Linked DNA regions of Homo sapiens: all the other regions are linked to region 3. The links are contacts of gene promoters, found by promoter capture Hi-C in blood cells and fetal thymus (Javierre and others, 2016). All regions are on one chromosome and are shown on one strand. The core of a region is centred on a gene start or on the middle of the fragment in contact, and the rest is flanking DNA. Distances in the headings are between cores, read along the strand shown.

The links. Contacts are between HindIII fragments. The CHiCAGO score rates a contact against its expected background, and 5 or more counts as called.
Region 1: a fragment that was not itself captured here is called in contact with the fragment with the promoter of TMEM201 in region 3 in 2 of 17 cell types (naive CD4 T cells and total B cells); the score reaches 5.9 in naive CD4 T cells.
Region 2: a contact is called between a fragment that was not itself captured here and the fragment with the promoter of TMEM201 in region 3, in 3 of 17 cell types (fetal thymus, endothelial precursors and M0 macrophages). The highest score is 7.1, in fetal thymus.

What each region holds. Positions count from the first base shown.
Region 1 is chr1:10,033,961-10,036,731 of GRCh38, forward strand. All of the region lies in intron 1 of UBE4B (ubiquitination factor E4B), which reads left to right. Among named protein-coding and RNA genes, the nearest start is that of UBE4B, 2.4 kb to the left of the region's middle. The HindIII fragment of the contact is 2,564 bases long and covers 185-2,748 here.
Region 2 is chr1:9,288,782-9,291,564 of GRCh38, forward strand. No RefSeq gene overlaps it. Among named protein-coding and RNA genes, the nearest start is that of SPSB1, 2.7 kb to the right of the region's middle. The HindIII fragment of the contact is 1,021 bases long and covers 813-1,833 here.
Region 3 is chr1:9,587,369-9,590,206 of GRCh38, forward strand. TMEM201 (transmembrane protein 201) reads left to right here and starts at 1,543. Exons shown (of 11, transcript NM_001130924.3): 1 at 1,543-1,675. The coding sequence starts at 1,563. RefSeq lists silencers at 1,139-1,548, 1,559-1,758, 1,919-1,988. The HindIII fragment of the contact is 1,704 bases long and covers 663-2,366 here.

The sequences.
Region 1 (2,771 bases), core at 217-2,716, 450 kb after region 3:
TTTATTCTTTTCTTCAGGGTATGCGAACAAGAAGGGCGAGATTTACATGAAGTTAAAGTGTGTGTGTGTCTGTGTCTTCAGGAATTTAAAGAACAATTTTGGATGGAATGAGAATGTATGGTGGGTGAATATTTTTAAAGAAAGCATTTGAAATTCCAGATATGTGTGGTTATTGCACTGTATAAGCTTGATTAAACATATATTTTTGCTTGAGGGGTGGTTTACAGACAGATTCTTTGATATTTAACAAAATATGTATCTTCTCCACAGTTTAGAGAATTCCAGTTATATTCTGGTACTTAATAGACCACTAATGACTTCTGGCATTCTTCTGTTACATTCTATCTTTTCCTACTTCTTGAATCTTTCAAACTTGTGTTTTGCTGTAGCAGAGACTGAACGGGAAGCAAGTGGAAGCAAATGACTTTCTAAACTCTCTCCTGTTCTCATTTCTTAAAGGAGTTATACAGATCTACTTCTTGATGTTTTAAAGATTGTTTAATAAATTAGGTTGTTGTAAAAAAAAAAACAACCAAAAAGCAGTGGCAATTAGGGTACAAGGAATTTCCTATGATTCTACTGCCTTTTCTCTTCCTTTTTGCAAATTAGGAGCTTCCCTTTCAGGACCCCTACTGGCCATACCCTCTTTAGCCTACCTCCACATTTCTTCACTGGTTCATCATGTAAACTTCCCTACAGTATTAGGAAAGCAGTCATCCATCAAGTTGATTGTACTACAAGACTTCCATGCTCCAGTTTTAGCTACAGAGTACTTAGTGTGTTTACTTAGGGACTGAAATTCTCCTGGGATAGGACACGCAGTGGTGTGTTAAGGGTCAGGTAGGAAAGGAAGCAAATGATTTTGTTGATTGTGATACTTGGATACTTGGTTTGGAAAATCAGGACTGCCCATTCGGCGTTACTTTGTTTTTTTCGAATACAGCAGAAATGTAATCTTAAGTGAAGAGAATATTACACAGTTTCTTTCATTCGGTAGGAAATCTCCTTAGAATCGCTTTATTTTATGTGGGTTTTTTTTTGTTTGTTTGTTTTTTTGAGACGGAGTCTTGCTCTGTCGCCCAGGCTGCAGTGCAGTGGCGCGATCTCGTCTCACTGCAAGCTCCGCCTCCCGGGTTCACACCATTCTCCTGCCTCAGCCCCCTGAGTAGCTGGGACTACAGGCGCCCGCTACCACGCCCGGCTATTTTTTGTATTTTTAGTAGAGATGGGGTTTCACCATGTTGGCCAGGATGGTCTCCATCTCTTGACCTCGTGATGCACCCGCCTCAGCCTCCCAAAGTGCTGGGATTACAGGCGTGAGCCACCGCGCCTGGCCTGTTTTATGTGGTTTTTTAAAAGTTTCTCTACCTCCCCCGTTTTTCATTAATGTTAATTCTAGTGAGTAATTTCTCTTAAGGCAGAGATACTGTTTTTTTTTTTTTTTTTTTTTTTTTGAGGCGGAGTCTCGCTCTGTCGCCCAGGCTGGAGTGCAGTGGCGCTATCTCAGCTCACTGCAAGCTCTGCCTCCCGGGTTCACGCCATTCTCCTGCCTCAGACTCCGGAGTAGCTGGGACTACAAGCGCCCGCCACCACTCCCGGCTAGTTTTTTGTATTTTTTTGTGTTTTTAGTAGAGACGGGGTTTCACTGTGTTAGCCAGGATGGTCTCGATTTCCTGACCTTGTGATCTGCCCGCCTCGGCCTCCCAAAGTGCTGGGATTACAGGCGTGAGCCACCGTGACCGGCCAGAGATAGTTTTTTTATTTTTTTTTATTTTTTATTTATTTTATTTTATTTTTTTTGAGACGGAGCCTCGCTCTGTTGCCCAGGCTAGAGTGCAGTGGCGCGATCTCAGCTCACTGCAAAGCTCCGCTTCCCGGGTTCACGCCATTCTCCTGCCTCAGCCTCCCGAGTAGCTGGGACTACAGGCGCCCGCCACCACGCCCGGCTAATTTTTTGTGTTTTTAGTAGAGACGGGGTTTCACCGTGTTAGCCCAGGATGGTCTCAATCTCCTGACCTCGTGATCCGCCCGCCTCGGCCTTCCAAAGTGCTGGGATTACAGGTGTGAGCCACCGCGCCCGGCCGAGGTAGTTTTTTAGTAGTCCTTTACTCCTATAAATTACTTTTTTTTTTTTTTTTTGATGATCTGTTAATAGTCCTTGGTTTAGAGGCTTTTGCATACTTGAGTTTTCACCAAAAAATTCTTTTCAAACCAGTGAGGCATTACAGACCAGTGAAGATATTGTATAATCTAAAATGTGTCTCTTCACTTTCATCAGTCCTTGAGGAAGGTGTAACTTTTTTTTGTGACCATATGAGGAACACATGTAACCTTTGTGGAAGAAATAGAATAAACTTTTTTCAAGGTCAACAGAATATTAAAATAAATGAAAAAAATTAAATTCACTAATACAGGATCAATGTAAAATTATCTTCAACAAATTAGTTGTCCAGAACACAAAGGGCTGGTTCAATAACTGTTAATTTTACTCTCAGCAGAACCTAGAACAAATAATATTCGTTTGTTTTTAATTTAAAAAATCTTTTTTTTTTTTGTAGAGACGGGGGTCTTGCCATGTTTCCCAGGATGGTCTCAAACTCCTGACCTCAAGCGATCCTCCCACTTCAGCCTCCCAAAGTGGGAGCCAGACAAATAGTTATTTTGGGAAAAATATCTTTGAAGTTTTTCTTTTTAATTCAATTAAAAATTTTTGAGGTTAGGTAAGCAGTTCTCATGAGACATTTCCAAAGCTTTTGCCTTTGTATTGTTAC
Region 2 (2,783 bases), core at 73-2,572, 300 kb before region 3:
TAATAAATACTTGGAGGGGGTTTCACTTTGATTGTTTAATGGAGTTTTACTACATTAATACTATTAAAATTAATTAATTATATTATAATGTATATTCAAGATGTCCCATGGATAGAAATAAACTGAAATACTGTTAAAAGCAACTGGTGAAGATTTAAGATAGGCACCAATATCACAGTCTGCTGTTACTTCACTGTGTTTTTGAAGAACTTTGCAATAGTTATTGTCCCAAACCCAATATCATCTCTTTATTATTTTTTTCTCAAAGTCATAGGAACTCTTTCCAAGCCTGTTTATCATCTAATGTCTCATTTAAATCTCCCCAAAACTTTGCTCTTAGTCTTTTCCTTTATTCGTGATTAACAAAGTCTGATAGAGCTATAGTGCAATATCATGCTTTGCCAGCAGGCGTCGCTGTCTGACAAGATGTGATCCAGTGTGAGCACTACAGTAATTTATGACCAAATGATCTACAAAATGAATCAATGTACTAAATTAGGGAATATTATGAGATCAAAATTCTGCGAGAAGTCAGCTGTGATGGCTCATGCCTATAATCCCAGTACTTCGGGAGGCCACGGCAAGAAGATCACTTGAGCCCAGAAGTTCAAGACCAGCCTGGGCAACATGGTAAGACCCTGCCTCTATTTTTTTTTTTTAATTAACATATAAACACTCTACTTCTGTTTTGCATCATGAGATAAGTACACATCTTATGCTAAGGATGCATAATAGATGTAGATTTTATTAATATGCTTCAGTGTTCTTCATGTTCTGGTGGATCTTGCTACAATTCTGTGTTGTGGATACCAAGCTTTTCTTTAAAAAAAAAACCTATTATCTTGAAAATTCTCAAAATCCTTGATTTCATTCTAGCACAATTAATTGTGTTCAGTTAATGTTGGTTGAATGATTGCACCACCTCCCCAGTTTCTGGGGAAATGTGTAGAGCAGTTCTACAGATGAGAACAGGAAATCTCAGAAAGGTTAAGTAACTTGCTCAAGGTCACACAGCTGATGAATAGCAGAGCTGGGGGTTGCATTGGGTTTGTCTATTACCAAATCCTTTGCACATTTGCTCCAATCAGCAAAAGGGATTCAGAGAAGATGGCAGCCTTTAACACTTGTGAGGGCAGCAGGATTCTGTGCTAAGAGCTCAAGGCTCAGAACCATCATCAGAAAAAGCAGCTGATGCTAATTCACCATCTATCAAGTTTCTCTTCACCATTTCCCGGAGACAGATTAAAGACATGAGCAAATTGTGCTGATGCAAGTGATAAAATGTGTGTGGGGGTGGGGTGGAGTTGGGGAGGGGGTTGGGGATGACACCACTGGGAGCCCAGAGCCACCTCCCTCCCGACTCACCCCTGCAGTACACAGATCTTTGTATAAGTCCTGAGTCACCCTTCAAATTTTTGGATAGTATCTATCAGCTTATGTCACAATGTTGCAAGATTATGTATCTTTTTTTAACAAACAATAGTATCAGCATGCTAGGGTGATTCTGAGCCCTTCTGACACATAAACTGGCTTCCAGGATTGCTCAACATTGCCCCATGCTGCAGCAGTCACTGCCGGCTGACCAGCCTTCCATCATCCGGCCAACCTGCCCAGCGTCCTGGAGGAGAGAAGGCCCACTCCCCAGGGGTTCTTCTGGGAAATTTAGGTCAGCAGGGTCTAATTATTCAACTGGATCAAGAGCTGAGATTTCCAGATTAACGCCGAAGGGGGGTGGGGTGGGGGTGCTGAAGACTTTTCATCAGGAACTGTCTTTCAGGGCCTTAAACATCAAAGCTGGGTCTCTAGCTCCAAAGTGCCCCAGTCTGCCCTGGAAGCTTCCCAGATGTTAAGAGGTGAGGCTTGGTGGAGTTCCTCTTAGCAAAGCTGACAACACCATGGCCCCAGGCCACGTGGCCGTAGCACCAGCCCCATGAGATGCCAGTGTCTGGTAGATGCCACACACACAGTGAATAATCCACCAAACAGGGCTACTCTCCCAAGGAGAAATGAACCCATCAGAGGCAGCTGTGATTTTCAGCAATGACTGACGTGGGCTGCACCCCATGGGCCTGTCCCAGAGGCTCTCACCAGTCTCCCAAGTAAACAACAGTTCTCAAACTGCAGAGTGGCTGGAGGGGGTCATATGCTCTTTTAAAATTATTATTACCTTTTTTTTCTTTTTTTTTGAGATGGAGTCTCGCTCTGTTGCCCAGGCTGGAGTGCAGTGGTGCGATGTCGGCTCACTGCAACCTCTGCCTCCTGGGTTCAAGAGATTCTCCTGCCTCAGCCTCCCGAGTAGCTGGGATCGCAGGCACGTACCACCACACCCAGCTAATTTTTGCATTTTCAGTAGAGATGGAGTGTTGCCATGTTGGCCAGGCTGGTCCTGAACTTCTTTTTTTTTTTTTTTTTTTTTTTTTGTGAGACGGAGTCTCGCTCTGTCACCTGGGCTGGAGTGCAGTGGCGCAATCTCGGCTCACTGCAATCTCTGCCTCCCGGGTTCACACCATTCTCCTGCCTCAGCCTCCCAAGTAGCTGGGACTTACAGATGCCCGCCACCACGCCTGGCTAATTTTTTATATTTGTAGTAGTGACGGGTTTCATCGTGTTAGCCAGGATGGTCTCCATCTCCTGACCTCGTGATCCGCCCGCCTCGACCTCCCAAAGTGCTGGGATTACAGGTGTGAGCCACCAAGCCCAGCCTGGTCCTGAACTTCTGACCTCAGGTGATCCACCTGCCTCAGCCTCCCAAAGCGCTGGGATTACAGGTGTGAGCCATCATG
Region 3 (2,838 bases), core at 293-2,792:
AGACCAGGTTTCACCATGTTGGTCAGGATGGTCTCCAGCTCCTGACCTTGTGATCCGCCTGCCTCGGCCTCCCAAAATGCTGGAATTACAGGCGTGAGCCACCATGTGCCCGGCCTGCATGTTGCTTTTTTGTTGTCGTTTTTGTTTTTTCAGAAGGAGTCTCCTGTCACCAGGCTGGAATGCAGCGGCACAATCTTGACTCGTTGCAACCTCCGCCTCCCAGGTTCAAGCGATTCTTGTGCCTCAGCTTCCCGAGTAGCTGGGATTACAGGTGTGCACCACCACGCCCGGCTAATTTTTGTATTTTCAGTAGAGATGGGGTTTCACCATGTTGCCCAGGCTGGTCTTGAACTTCTGACCTCAGGTGATCCGCCCGCCTCGGCCTCCCAAAGTGCTGGAATTACAGGTGTGAGCCACCGCGCCCTGCCTGCATGTTGCTTTTTAAAAACAATGTATCATCCATCTATGCCAATAACTCCAGATCTGGCTTTCTTTTCTTTTCTTCCTTTCTTTCTTTCCTTCTTTCCTTCCTTCTTTCCTTTCTTCCTTCCTTCCTTCTTTCTCTCTCTCTCTCTTTCCTTGCCTTTCCTTTCTTTTTTGAGAAGGAGTCTCGCTTTTGTCGCCCAGGCTGGAGTGCAGTGGCGCGATCTCGGCTCACTGCAAGCTTCGCCTCCCGGGTTCACGCCATTCTCCTGCCTCAGCCTCCCGAGTAGCTGGGACTACAGGCGCCCGCCACCACGCCCGGCTAATTTTTTGTATTTTTAGTAGAGAGGGGGTTTCACCGTGTTAGCCAGGATGGTCTCGATCTCCTGACCTCGTGATCCGCCCGCCTCGGCCTCTCAAAGTGCTGGGATTACAGGCGTGAGCCACCGCGCCCTGCCTGGATCTGGCATTCTTTCTAATGGTTGCATTATGTTCCGAACTATGGCTGTCCTATGATTTATTCAACCATGTCCCTATCCGTGGATGATCGTGTTTCTAAAAAGCTAGTTTTTCAACCATTAGAGCGGCTCAAGGAGCTGCTAAACAGCACTGGGCGCATAGGCTGGGTTTGACTAGACAGGATTAGCGAGGGGGAAAAAGACTAATTACAAGCAGTTGCGTACTCTGGAGATGCTCCCCTTAGCAGAAGCTCGGTGGACTGTCTGCAGCCAGACCTCCGGGCCTGGCGGCTGGCGCGGGAGGCAGAAGGCGGGGCTTTCCTACAGGGCTCCGTGCCCCGCCCTCCCCGCGCCGCCTTCCACCTCCGGCCGCGCGGGGGCGCTCCCCGGCCGGCTCTGTCGCTTCCGCCGCCGCCCCGCCCACCCGGGCTCACCCCTCGTCCCGATTGGCTGCGCGACGGGAGCGCGCCGAGTCAGGGGGCGGGCCCGCGCCCGCTACAAAGCGGCGAAGGTCACGGCGCGAGGAGGCGCGCGTCGCCGCCCCGCGTCCCGCCTGCGGCCCGCGCCCCCGGCGTCACCGCCTCCTGCCCGCCTGCCCGCCTGCCCGCCTGCCCGCCTACCCGCCTACCCGCCTACCCGCCTACCCCCCTGCCGGCCTGCCGTCCTTCCACGCGGAGAGCCATGGAGGGAGTGAGCGCGCTGCTGGCCCGCTGCCCCACGGCCGGCCTGGCCGGCGGCCTGGGGGTCACGGCGTGCGCCGCGGCCGGCGTGTTGCTCTACCGGATCGCGCGGAGGTGAGTGCATGGTTCGGCCCCACGCGGCCCTCTGCGCCGCCCGCCAGGCCCGCCCCCGCGCCGCCCCGGCCCGCTGCCCCCCTCGGCCGGGACCCGGGCTGCCCGCGGGCGCGCGGAGACCCCCGGCGCGCGCCGCCGCCCCCCGAGACCGGGTTGAGACTGCAGTCGGGAAGCGGCTGCGGAGTCGAGTGGAGCGGCGGGGACTCCGGGAACGTGGGGCGCGGGCGAGAGCGCCGCGCGGGGGCCACAAACTTCCTCCGGGAGCCGCGGGGGGCTGGAGCCGGTGCGCACGGGCCGCCCCTGCCCTCAGCCCCGTGCTGGGCCCCGGTGCACGGCGATGCTGGCGATCGCGGCTGGCGGTTGCTGCTCGGCATGTGACGTCCCGGGCGTTTTTCTACACGCCTCGCATCCGCGCGTTTCAGAGCCACAGCCCCTGCTTACGCTAGAGCAGCTGAGGGACAGGGAGGCTCAGTAACTTGCTGTTAATGAGAGGAATCATGGTTTGAGCCGATGGAATCTGCAGGGCAGACCCCGAGGCTGGGCTGCCTCCCAGAGGTGGGCAAGGCCTGAGATGCCTCCAAACAGTTCAAGACGGGCCGGGGCCACCCTCCTCCCTGCCCGGCTCACGGGCCATGCGGGCCCCCGGGTTCAGATCCGGCCTCTTTCATCGGCCTCCATCGCCAGGCATAAAAGCTTAGTGGCCTGTTGCTTCAGCAGAGCCTCGCAGGTAGCTTACTGTTTCTCCACTTGATCCACCTTTCCAGAGGGCAGGGGGGAAAGTGGGGTTGTGAGAACATCCTAGAAAGAGTGGATGGGTTTGCAGCTTCGGCAAGGGATGCAATGAGCTCACACCCTTAGGAAAAAGGGGAGAAGGGACTTGCCCACTCAGCAGCAAGTGGCAGAGCTGGGGTTTGAACCCTGATCGTCTGGCTGGTCTGTTTGTTCTTCCTTAACACATACCGGTGCTGCTTCTCTCCTCCAGGGGGGAAACGGGGAAAAAGAAGTACAGGTGGTTGAGTCACAGAGGCTTCCCAGAGGAGGAAGGCATGGGAGGGACATCAGCTGTGTCTGGAGGATGGGCCAGATGTGACTGAGGAGGGTAGCTGGGGATTGAGTGACCCCAGCCCAGAGGTCCCTGACAACCCAAGTCTCTCCATGTCGGT